Regions from separate parts of the Homo sapiens genome. Here all the other regions are linked to region 4. Evidence: promoter capture Hi-C in human tissues and cell types (Jung and others, 2019). All regions are on one chromosome and are shown on one strand. Each heading gives the region's core, a stretch centred on a gene start or on the middle of the fragment in contact. The rest is flanking DNA. Distances are from core to core; before and after follow the strand shown.

What was found. The method cuts DNA at HindIII sites, captures the fragments that hold promoters and counts their contacts. A contact is called where the count stands out against the background at its distance.
Region 1: a contact is called between a fragment that was not itself captured here and the fragment with the promoter of DAOA in region 4, in 2 of the 25 tissues and cell types used here (dorsolateral prefrontal cortex and small bowel).
Region 2: a contact is called between a fragment that was not itself captured here and the fragment with the promoter of DAOA in region 4, in 2 of the 25 tissues and cell types used here (dorsolateral prefrontal cortex and mesenchymal stem cells).
Region 3: a contact is called between a fragment that was not itself captured here and the fragment with the promoter of DAOA in region 4, in 3 of the 25 tissues and cell types used here (dorsolateral prefrontal cortex, heart right ventricle and lymphoblastoid cells).

What each region holds. Positions count from the first base shown.
Region 1 is chr13:105,419,469-105,422,412 of GRCh38, forward strand. No RefSeq gene overlaps it. Among named protein-coding and RNA genes, the nearest start is that of DAOA, 45 kb to the right of the region's middle. The HindIII fragment of the contact is 6,564 bases long and covers 1-2,944 here.
Region 2 is chr13:105,524,736-105,527,664 of GRCh38, forward strand. No RefSeq gene overlaps it. Among named protein-coding and RNA genes, the nearest start is that of DAOA-AS1, 21 kb to the left of the region's middle. The HindIII fragment of the contact is 3,603 bases long and covers 1-2,929 here.
Region 3 is chr13:105,505,600-105,508,414 of GRCh38, forward strand. DAOA-AS1 (DAOA antisense RNA 1) reads right to left here and starts at 82. Exons shown (of 7, transcript NR_040247.1): 1 at 1-82. The HindIII fragment of the contact is 4,071 bases long and covers 1-2,815 here.
Region 4 is chr13:105,464,669-105,467,717 of GRCh38, forward strand. DAOA (D-amino acid oxidase activator) reads left to right here and starts at 1,377. Exons shown (of 6, transcript NM_172370.5): 1 at 1,377-1,392; 2 at 1,548-1,664; 3 at 2,385-2,473. The coding sequence starts at 1,621. It overlaps DAOA-AS1 (DAOA antisense RNA 1), which reads right to left. Exons shown (of 7, transcript NR_040247.1): 5 at 1,519-1,752. The HindIII fragment of the contact is 13,308 bases long and covers 1-2,798 here.

The sequences.
Region 1 (2,944 bases), core at 15-2,514, 45 kb before region 4:
CAGATACCCATCAATGATAGACTGGATAAAGAAAATGTGGTACATATACATCATGGAATACTATGCACCCATAAAAAGGAATGATATCATGTCCTTTGCAGGGACATGGATGGAACTGGAAGCCATTATCCTCAGCAAACTAACACAAAAACAGAAAACCAAATACTACATGTTGTCACTTATAAGTGGGAGCAGAACAATAAAAACATATGGACACAGGGAGGGAAACAACACACTGGGGTCTATTTCGGGGTTGTGGGGAGGGAGAGCATCAGGATAAATAGCTAATGCATGCTGGGCTTAATACCTAGGTGATGGATTGATAAGTGTGGCAAACCACCATGGCAAATGCTTACCTATGTAACAAACCTTCATGTCCTGCACATGTATCACAGAACTTAAAATAAAATATAATATACTTTTTAAACTTCTGATTAAGAAAAAACATAACTAAGACACAAGGCATCAGGATCCTAAGAGAATCACAGAAATAGTAGTATGGCAATATCATCTTTGGCAAAATTTATGTTCCCTGAAATTAAGGTCTGGTCTGTCTTGTCCTCCCGTAAATTCTGTTTTCTTAAATACATGGCCCATGCTTGTTTAATGAAAGCTGAGATATACTGAGAATGATTTAGGGGAATGAGAAAATGGCTTTTTGGAGGAGGTGACATTTAAAGTAAACTTTGACAAAGTATAAGGTCTTGCTTTGATGACCAGTATCTATTTTCTTTTTTGACAATTATACTCAGTTTCTTTGAAAAGAAATGTCTTTTCTATTGTGGGCTGTCTTGAGGAAGCTGTCAATCAATATACTCTTTTTTTGCCCTGAGTCTCTTTCCCAGTATCTGACCCTGACATCAAAGAATACAAGGAAGCAAAACACACGTGCAGCTTATTTATTCCTGAGGCAGGGCCTATGTGAGTCTGTAGACTAAGTTCCTTACAGGGATGCTGTTTGACATGTCCTGTCTGAGTCAGACTATGTAGCTGTTTCTTTGATTTTGTGATCTACCCATCATCCTTACACATTGACATTTTTGCTTCAATCAAGCAGGTAGAATTGTTTTAGTTTATTGTTAATAGTAGTCAAACAACACAAGTTGGTGCAATAATTAACATACCAAAAAGTTTTGCTTTTTTATATTTACGTAACTATTATATTTCATGGAAAATTTCACAGTTTGCTGAGCATTAGAACATAGAGGGGGGAAACAAACTCACAAACCTAGTTCCCCTGCCAACCAAATTGTAGATAGCTGAGTTCCAGGTAGTCTTCATACAAATTTGCCATGGAATGTTAGACAATTCACTGAGCCATTTGAAAAGTTAGTTTATAAAAGTTACCATCCTGCACTTATCTAATATTATATCAATCAACTGATCATTACCATGATTCTAGCTATATTCTTTATATTGTGAAGTTTTCATTGATTTTGACAGTGTTTTTGGTGTGCTATTATGGAATACAGTCATGTGAAGCCTGGCTTCACGTGTGCAAATCTATGCCCTGTAGAGAAAGGAGGAGGGATCATGAGAAATTCCTTTACTGACCAAGCGTCCTCACTGATGAATTGAGAAAGAGGATACCTGTGTGTGTTGGTGGAGGTGGGGGGAGTCCCTTTATTTATTTTTTTTCTTTAATGCTTCTGTTCTTTCCAGTATGCTTTAAAATAAAATATTGAAAATCTTCTAAGGAATAAAGGCATGCAGGTTAGGTGAACAAATAAAGAGTGTGTTTGTTTATAATGGTAGTATATCAACGATTTCAGCAGTGAAAAGACTACTGCAGAAGGGTTTGGGGAAACACAGTTTCCACATAAACATTCTTTTGGTCTTCATTTATTCCATCTGGAAAATAAAAACTAATAACCATATGATTTTAATCAAAAGACTATCTGGGTCAGAGTAGGGAATTTCCAAGTGCCCTTCAGCTGATTTTTCTGAGTTAGCAACGTAACTGGGATGTAAGGGTAGGCTTAGAGGGTGACACTCCATTGGCCTTTGCTTCTCTTTTACATCATAAAGAAAGACTCCTAGATTTGATAACCAAATTTAGTGAATTCTCAATTTACAAAATCATTGTACACAAATCATTAGCATTGCTATGCACCAACAACAACCAAGCTGAGAATCAAATTAAGAACTCAACCCCTTTCACAACAGCTGCAAACATACAAAAATAAAAAAATAAAATGCCTGGTAATATAGTTAACCAAGGAGGTGAAAGATCTATACAAGGAGAACTACAAAATATTGCTGAACAAAATTGTAGATGAAACAAACAAATGGAATCACATCCCATGCTCATGGGTTGGAAGAATGAATATCATGAAAATGACCATACTGACCAAAACAATCTACAAATTGAATGCAATTGCTATCAAAATACCAATATCATTTTTACAATACTTTTTAAAAACGTAAAATTCATATGGAACCAAAATAAGAGCCCGAAAAAGAGCAATTCTATGCAATAAGAACAAATCTGGAGCCATCACGTTACTGGACTTGAAACTATACTACAAGGCTATAGTTTCCAAAACAACGTGGTACCAGTATACAGTAGACACATACACCAAAGGAACAGTATAGAGAACCCAGGAATAAATCCAAATACTTACAACTGACTTAATTTTGACAAAACGTACAAAATCATAAATTGGGGAAAGTACCCACTGTTTAATAAATGGTGCTGGGAAAACTGGCTAGCCACATGTAGAAGAAAGAAACTGGATCTCTCAACTTATACATACATCCATTAAAGATGGATCAAAGACTGAAATCTAAGACCTGAAACTATAAATTTCTAGAAGTTAACCTAGAAAAAACTCTTCTGGACATAGGCCTAGGCAAAGAATTAATGAATAAGACCTCAAAAGCAAATGCAAACGTAAACAAAATAAATTAATTGGCCCACATTAAACTAAAAAACTGCTGCACA
Region 2 (2,929 bases), core at 401-2,900, 60 kb after region 4:
TTGTCCTCCATGAGCTCCTCTGCTTTTGGGTATCCCATTCTCCACCTCCACTCCTACACACTCAGGAGGTCAGCAGATCCCATTTCCACTACCTTATGGAGAAAATAGAAATCTTTTTTTTTTTTTTCTTGAGATGGAGTCTCTCTCTGTCACCCAGCCTGGAGTGTAGTGACATGATCTTGGCTCAATGCAACCTCCGCTTCCCAGGTTCAAGAGATTCTCCTGCTTCAGCCTCCCAAGTAGCTGGGATTACAGGTGCCCATCACCACACTTGGCTAATTTTTGTATTTTTAGTTGAGATGGGGTTTCACCATGTTAGACCAGGCTGGTCTTGAACTCCTGACCTCAGGTGATTTGCCCGCCTTGGCCTCCCAAAGTGCTGGAATTACAGGCATGAGCCACCATGCCCGGCCGAGGAAATTGAAATCTATCTCGCCTTCATGGTCCCCACTAACAAACATGAATATTTGTAGCTTCCCTCACTTTCTTCCTTCTAGACCCACCTTCTTCTCACATGTGTGATGGTTGCAGTGGTCCAGCTGTGAAAATGAACAGTCTAAAATGTCAAGAAAGGGCACAACACAATGGGAGTGTGTTTTTGTTCAACTATTACTGCAGGGATGTTTCTCGTTGTTCCATATTGAGGGTCTCTGCTTCCTTCGATTGTATGGTGCATCTCCTCCTATTGCTTCAGCTTTTCCATTCTGCTGGGAGAAGGGAAAAGCTTCTGCCTTAAAATGCCACATGTGATCTTTATGGCTGGAATTCAGTCACATGGCCACCCCTAATGAATGGGCATCTGAGAAAAGGAATCTGTTTCGCATCTGCAAGTCCAAGGAGAAATGAAAAGGAATGTATAGCCACTGTGCCTGACTAAGGATTCCTGCCTGCCTCTTGAGCTCACCCCTTCTCTCACCTCTACCTCAACACTTTGCTCCTTTTTTGCTGCATTATCTGTAATCACTCCTAACATGATGTCTCCTCAGCATATAAGCAAAATCATCTTCATTATTATCATCACCATCCACACTTGTTTAACACACATTCTTCTCCAGGTCAACAGCTGTTGGCCAGAGGTCATCATCAGCTTTTAGAGGCCACCTGTACCCCCTTCCTTATGTTCCCCGCCATCTTCAAAACTATTAATACCATGTCAAGTCCTTGTCAGGCTTCAAATATCTCTGTCCTGCCTCTTTCCCTTATCTGTCTGCCTTCTGCTTCTGCTAGTACAGACTCGTGTGATTACACTGGGCCCACCTGGACCACCCAGGATCACCTCCCTCTGTTAAAGTCAGGTGAATAGCAACATTAATTACAACTGCAAGTCCCTTCTGCCATGCATATAACATAATCACAAAGCTGGCACCGGGGGTGAAAGTCATAGTGAACAAAATTCTGCCTACCACATTGCATCAGGTTCCAACTTTGTAGTGTGTGTCAGAGCAGCCATTTCAATTCATTTCCTACGTTATTAACCTTCTGACTATACCATTAACTTTATGCCTAGGGAGACCATATGTCACAATTTGCCTGGGGCAGCTCTGGTTTATGTGTGCTATTTCAAGATTAGAATTCACAGCATCTCCTTTGATACTAGCTTGAACATTAAATCAGAGGTCACTTAATTGTATTCCATGCCCTGTCCCATTGTGTCCAGTTTTCTAGTTTCTAGAAATTCATTGTCTATTTCATGACTCTTTGCCTTTTTTAACAGCATTTATGCCTTCCACCTTTCAGCCTATCCTTCTCTTTGATGTCTTTCTGGGCATTTTCTAATTTCTCAGACACAGTTTACCTCCTCTATGAAGCCATCTTTATACCCATTTCTGATAATTTTCCATTTTTTTCTTTGTCCTGTCCCTGTACTTTTATATGCCAGTCTCATAGCAACTAAAACTTTTCTTTTTTTATTCCTGTCTTCTCTTATTAGGCTATAAGTTCTCAAGTCCAGGAAAGGTACCTTATCCTTCTTGATATTTACACACCCCAAATGGATCAGAGATAACCTGGTCCTTTCCATGATTTGGTCTGAAAAGGAAACAGGTGAACAGGCAACAGCCTGAGGCTCCAGGGAGTATATTTCAAAAGGAAACCCAACTCCCAAATAAACTCTTGACTTAGAGATTGGCTTGAAACTCACCAACTCTAGGTATCAATAACTGAAATGAAGACACAGTGTCCAGAACGTAAGAACCCATTCACCTGGAGCAGGAGATGTAGCTCGTCCATGCAAGGGTGGCATTAAAATGGAGATGAATTACAAACACATGTTTTCCTGAAGCTGTTGAAGCTTTGGTTCTTAAACAAAATCAAAGTTTACCATCTGCTGAAATAAGGTTGAGGTTTGTTAACATAGGGACTGGCTTCACCTTTACTCTCTTTGAAAGATTTGTGGGACAGTTTGCATTAGATGGTCATCAACAAGAACTGCAGTGTAGGTACACAAGAGGAAACATGGGCCATCGTCCTCCACCTCTCTCTTTGCATTTCAGGTGAGTCTGAGGAACAGGCTTTCTTAAAGCATATCAGGAAGCAGATTGACTGATATGCAGACTGCGTGACATCCGTTGCACTCTTGTGAACTGCCAGCCTGCTCTAAGTGCTGTGCATTGATACCATGGGTGTAATTGGATGGATGCAGTAAATGTGAATTGTAGGTAGCGGTATCAAAATTGCCATACGTGGCAGACTCTGTGCTAAATTTGTGCATTCTATAGTTTGGTGTTTCTATGCAAGGTAGCAACTAAGCTTCATTTCCTGAAACTCAGCAAAATAAATAAAAAAACCTTTCTGCATAGGAAAGCATTTCCACACTCCATATTATTTTTAGAGAAAAAAAAATGATGATTTGCAAATATAGTCAAATAAAAGTGCATTTCTAAATGGAACTGATTAGACTAGGTTCTTTGTAGCAAAACGTGTATTCAGT
Region 3 (2,815 bases), core at 76-2,575, 41 kb after region 4:
ACAGAAACAGTGAGATTGGTTCCAGCTCGGCGTTTGCCTTATTTGAACGCAGTTTGAACAAAAGCAGTCTATGAGTGGTTGAATCCCACTGGGACTGGGCAACATTCAGCCATTGTTACAGTGCATACTATTAAATTAGGTTTTAAATTTTGTCTGACTATTAAGCTAGGTTACAGTTCATCCACAAGGACTCACCTATAGAAGTACAGAGTCCTTCTCAGGCCATATTTAGTTTGCTTAACCATCATGATTTTCTGCCTTCTTTATATCCCGGCCGAGCTGGTAGCTGATTTAGTTGCTGCCCACCCAGATAAAGGGTGTGTCTGCCATTCCAGCCCACTGACTCAAATCTCCTTTGGCAACACCTTCAAAGACACAACAGCATCAATACTTTGCATCCTTCAATCCAATCAAGTGGACACTCAGTATTATCCATCACGGGCATATATTAAAATATATTTAAATGATACTAATGTATTAAACATAGCAATATAGAACTCTCCTGTAAAATAATAAACAGCACAGACCAGTTTTGAGAATAAGTGAGTTAAGGGTCTAAGCTTAAGTCTGGCTCTACCACTCGCAAATTGGATTTCCTTATAACGTCTCAGTTCCCACATCTGCAATATGATGAAGAACAATTAGCTCATGGCTTAACTTAAAGCAGGTGTTCCCAAACATTGCCATTCATGAAACTCACCAGGGGCAATTTAAAAATGTTAATGCCAGATTACACCCTACACCAATCAAAACAGAATCTCTATGGATGGGATCCAAACATCAGTATTTATTAAATCTCCTGTTTCTCAAACTTGAGTACATGGTAGAATATCCTGAGAATTTACTAAAGCCTGTATCCCATAGCAATATTTTAAGAACACTAATTAGAACAGTGTTTCTAAAGCTTTAAGGTGCATGAGAATCACTTGGGAATTTTGGAAACAGCAGATTCTGATTCAGCAGGTCTGGGTGGGCCTGAGAGGTGTATTTCTAACCAGCACCCTGGGAACGCTGATGCTGCCGGTTCACAGATCACACAGCTAAGCATCCAGGGCTTAGACTTCCAGCACAGCCGTCCAGCTGGTGGCAGGTGTGTAGAAATACGGACCCGCTCGTCCTTAATTGGTCTCCTTCCGTCACACTGTCCATGTGTGCTGTGCCAGCATTATCACCTTCTATCTGTTTCATCATAAGAAATCTGGGAAACCCTGGTTTCGATGTGTAAGTGTACAACACACCTAAGAGGGTTACTAGTATATGGCGGCTGTTCAATAAAGTTCATTGACATACATTGAAAAGTGTTTGTCTTCGAACTAGAACTGTAATAATCCCCTAATTCTTTTCAACCCTTGACCTGGTACAGCCCCAGCTTGCCTTCCCCCACTCCAATCACTTTCACACTTAGTGTGTAGTTAGGTTTTTGTTTGTTTGTTTTTTGGAAAAATAACACAGGGCAGGAGGAGGGAAGGAACTTTGTTTTTCTATACTGTTCTTATAAAAGGTGTGATGCTGGGAGCTCTGAGGATATAGGGGCTATCTGGTAATATCCCCGACTTATTTTGTTTATTAAAACCTCTCTTAAGAAGAGATTTTCTGTAATCAGGAAAAACTCCCAAATAAAGCCTCAGAGTTCCAACTGCAATAGTAGTTCCTAGTGAGGAGTGTAAATTCTGACACTTCCCAGAGGACTTCAGAATTGGAAAGGGATAACTAATAATCGTGAGATTTCTGATGATAGCTCTACCATGAACCAGCTCTGTGTCTTGAGATAAATTATACAATTTATTGAGTTCTCAGTTATCCCATTTGTAAAGTGAAAGTAATAATATCTTCCCTGAATATTTCATAAGAATAGAAGAGACAAAAATAGCTATGTAGAGTCTGAAAATTAACAAAAAATTGTCATTTTTATTATTTATACTATTTAAATCAGCATGATATTTAAATTGGTTTCTTCTTGTTACTAAATAGAGCGCTAGGATTATTCTGCATTAAAACGAGTTCCAAAATAAATAAAGGTTGTATTTTATGGTATTTCCCACCTATAATTGTAAGCAGTATCTTTCAGTCTAAGTTTTTGTGATTAACTTTTGCGTATCCTAAATAATAACCATTATTGAGTGATTCAACAGAATGCTAGTTTCTTAACATAAACTTTACTTGATAATTCCTGAGCATTTGAGGGTCTTGCATTCAAACTGCAAGACATAGGCAGCCATTCCTGTTTAAAATAGAGTTAAACATATTGAGTCCTTTATTGAAAGGACAAAAAGAATACAAATTCTCAGAAAATTCCTAATTTTAATGTAGATGGTAAAAGTTAATTTTATAATAATTAACCTTATCAGTTAAATTCTTACTCTTTTGAGAAGTAGCACGGATGCAATTTCTTTATTTCCTTGTATTGAAATCTTTTTATATTACTACATCTTTCCAAGTTGAAATAGTTTGGCCAAAGGATCTCCCCCAAGATAAAGCATTTCTTTTAATGTTGCAATGACTGCATTCTAGCACTTTTTCTCTTTTTTATACCACACTTTACTCTTCTTATCTCTGAAGGGCCTATTCAACACCTGTGCACACACTATGGCTTCAACAATATGCCATCTTGGGGAGTTTCCGGTAGCTTATAATTTTGATCAACTAAAGCAAATCTCTCTCAATTTTTTTTTAAAAAGAGCGAGCGTTTTTCCCAGTAAAAATCCCACCGTGTATTTGAATAAGCGTTATTATTTTAGATACTTCATATAAGTGGAATCATGCAATATGTGTCCTTCTGTAACTGGCTTATTTTATTTAGCATAATGCTCTCCAG
Region 4 (3,049 bases), core at 127-2,626:
TAACTAAGCATTAAGCAGAGTACTGCTCTGAGATTTAGCACCTCAGTCTTTTAGGTCCCTAAAGACTCCGGATTGGTTCCAGAGGTGGACTGTCAAATAGGAGGACTTTCTGCAGTAATGGAAATGGTCTATGTCAGTGCTGTCCAACATGGTAGCCAAGTGTGTGTGGTTATTGAGTACTTGAAATATGGCTAGTGGCACTGAGGAACTAAAGTTTTAATTTTAATTAGTTTAAGTAGCCTTAGGTTGCTAGGGGTTACCATATTGGATATTGCAGTTCTAGAGTTATTCTTCTCTCCTCATATTCAAAATTATCTTATGATGCTATCATAATTGAAAGATTAGCCAGGGACCCTATCATGGCTATGGCAGTCATGTCCTGTGAAAAATTCCATTAATGACCTCCACGTTTTATGATGTGTAGAGCAAAATCTCAGTCTCCCTGAGTAAGGCCTGCTCCATGTGGACACCTGGCTTTCTCCCTTGTCTACCTCCCTCAGTGGAGAGTCCACCTGCTGGTAGTGCACTCCTTAGGTGCCTGTCTCTGGCTGTCCTGTGCCACCTGCACAGAGTCATGCATGAGCTCCACTGTGGGAAGTCTCTAGAGATGAGCTGAGCTTACCCTACACCAACTGAAAGAGTCTATCTAAGTCCTGAAGATCACAAGTCATCCTCATATTCCCATGAATGTGAATGGAAGTTGGGCCTGCTCAGAGAATCATCAGGGCTCTTTATTGTGGCCTGGAGCCAACTGCCAAGGAGTGCCTAGGAACACACTCAGTAAGAGTGTTGCCCTCAGGCCAGATCAGACTTGAACCTGCAGAGAAATCCCCTAGGTATGTCAGCAATTGCTCATTTGGATGCTATAAACTTGAAGTTGTGAAAAATATAAAGACTTACATTATCCAGTCTCTCCTGGCAAAATATGTAGGTTTAATCATTCCTGAATTTTCCTTAGTTCACACAGATATACAAATATATATCCTAAAAATTGGCATTGGTAGGCGTGTCAAGTTATCATTTTAAAAACATAGAAACCTGAACAAGATGTATCACTCCAGTCTAGAATGTCTATATGCAGAGTATCCACAAAAAACCAAACTTCAACAGTCTTTCATGTCTATATTTCTTCAACATTCTTTGTCTTCAACATTCTTTCATGTCTAGAATGTCTATATGCAGAGTATCCACAAAAGACCCAAACTTCTTTCATTTAAAGAACCAAACTTCTTTAAATAAAAATGACTCACAATAATTTAATATTTTACCATTTACAAAGAGATTAACTACAACAATATTGATCTTGAGTTAATTTCCCACGAATAACATTTTCATTTCTTAAAATTTGCTGAATGGAAAGCCAGAAAGTAGAGTGAAGCAAGTAATGTGTGTGTGAGTAGTCATTGGATACATACATAACAGTGAGCAAGTTTATCAGCTCCTGCATGGCAGTGTTCTGATGATCTTTTGCTGCAAAAGAGCTACACCCCAAATTAGTGGCTTAAAGTAAAAGCTTACTAGTGTATATGATGATTCTGTTGGTCCAGGATTTGGAAAGGGCATGGCAGGAGGTCTCATCTCTGCTTCACAATGCCGATGATTTAGCTGGGAGGACCCAAAATGCTGGAAAAGCTGATGGGTGCTGATTCTCTCCAGCTTTTCAGGTAGGTAGCTTGGGGTTTTTTACAGCATGGCGGCCTCAGTGCAATGTGACATTTGCATGGCAGCACAGAGCTCCCAGGGTGAATGTTCCTGGAGACAGGAAGTGGAACATGTCAGGGTTGGAAGCCTGAGCCCAGTATATGGTTCAGCCTTACTTTCTCCCATATTCTGTCAGTCAAAGGAGAACCTAGCCAAGGATCACTCATGTTAATGAGGAGGAGACATAGGCCCTCACCTATCCCTGGGAGGAGGATCAAAGAGTTTGAATCTTTAATCCACAGCAGGCAGACAGCTTTCCATTGTTATAAACCACCTCCCCCTCACTCCATCTGCCTGTGCTAATTGTTTGCTCACAGGAATTTGTTTAGCACTGTGTAGAACTGGGATAACTTTGTGCTTATTTTGCAGTTAAAAGGGAGAGGCGCTAGTTTGGAGATTTTTAAAAAGCAAAGGTTTGAGAGCCAGTAAGACCTGGAGTGAACTCTCCTGTCAGCTATTTACCAACTGTATGACTGAGCAATTTATAAAAAAAAAATGCAAACCTCAATATCTTCATCTATAAAAATAAAAAAATAAGACGTATTTGGCTGAATAGTTAAGATTAAAAATATGAAAGTGCTAAACCATACATGTTATATGCTCCATTGATGTTGCTTATTCTTTCTCTCTTCTGCAGGGTATAAAGGAATCTGAACACGACTGATATTTTCTTTAATTTTTAGATCCAGATATACATTGGGTAAAATCTACTTCATAGGTTTTCAAAGGAGCATTCTTCTGAGCAAATCTGAAAACTCTCTAAACTCTATTGGTATGTTACTCTTTATCTTTATATGAATTTAAATTCTTCTAGAAGTTAGATAAAACTGTGGTAAAGCTACATAATACTTTTGACATATTTTCAAGCGTAGACAAACTTCAATTAATTTGTAAGATACAGGAAGAAAATTTTTCCAGTTAAAATGTACCTCTTGGTTTCTGGAGTGTTAGCAACCATTCACACTTACAGTTCAAACAGTGCAACCTTGTAAAACATATATAACTTATGAAGAGATCGATATCTCTTTTTATAAAGCAAACAAGTAAATTTTTCCCTCAATCCATGATTTATTTTTGTGAAGTGGGAATTTAAGGCAGTAGTTCTGCTTTCAAGTGAAAACCTGGATCAACTTTTAAATATCTATAGGCGCAAACCCAAGCTAGGTCTCACACAGTGCCTCACTTAATAATCTGTCAACGTTTAATTCTTTTTCTTTTTTTTTTTTTTTTCTGGAGACAGGGTCTCACTATGTTGCCCAGGCTGGAGTGCAGCAGCGCCTCGGCCTCCCCAAGTGCTAGGATTACAGGTGTCAGCCACAACACCCAGCCCATTAATGTTTAATCCCCT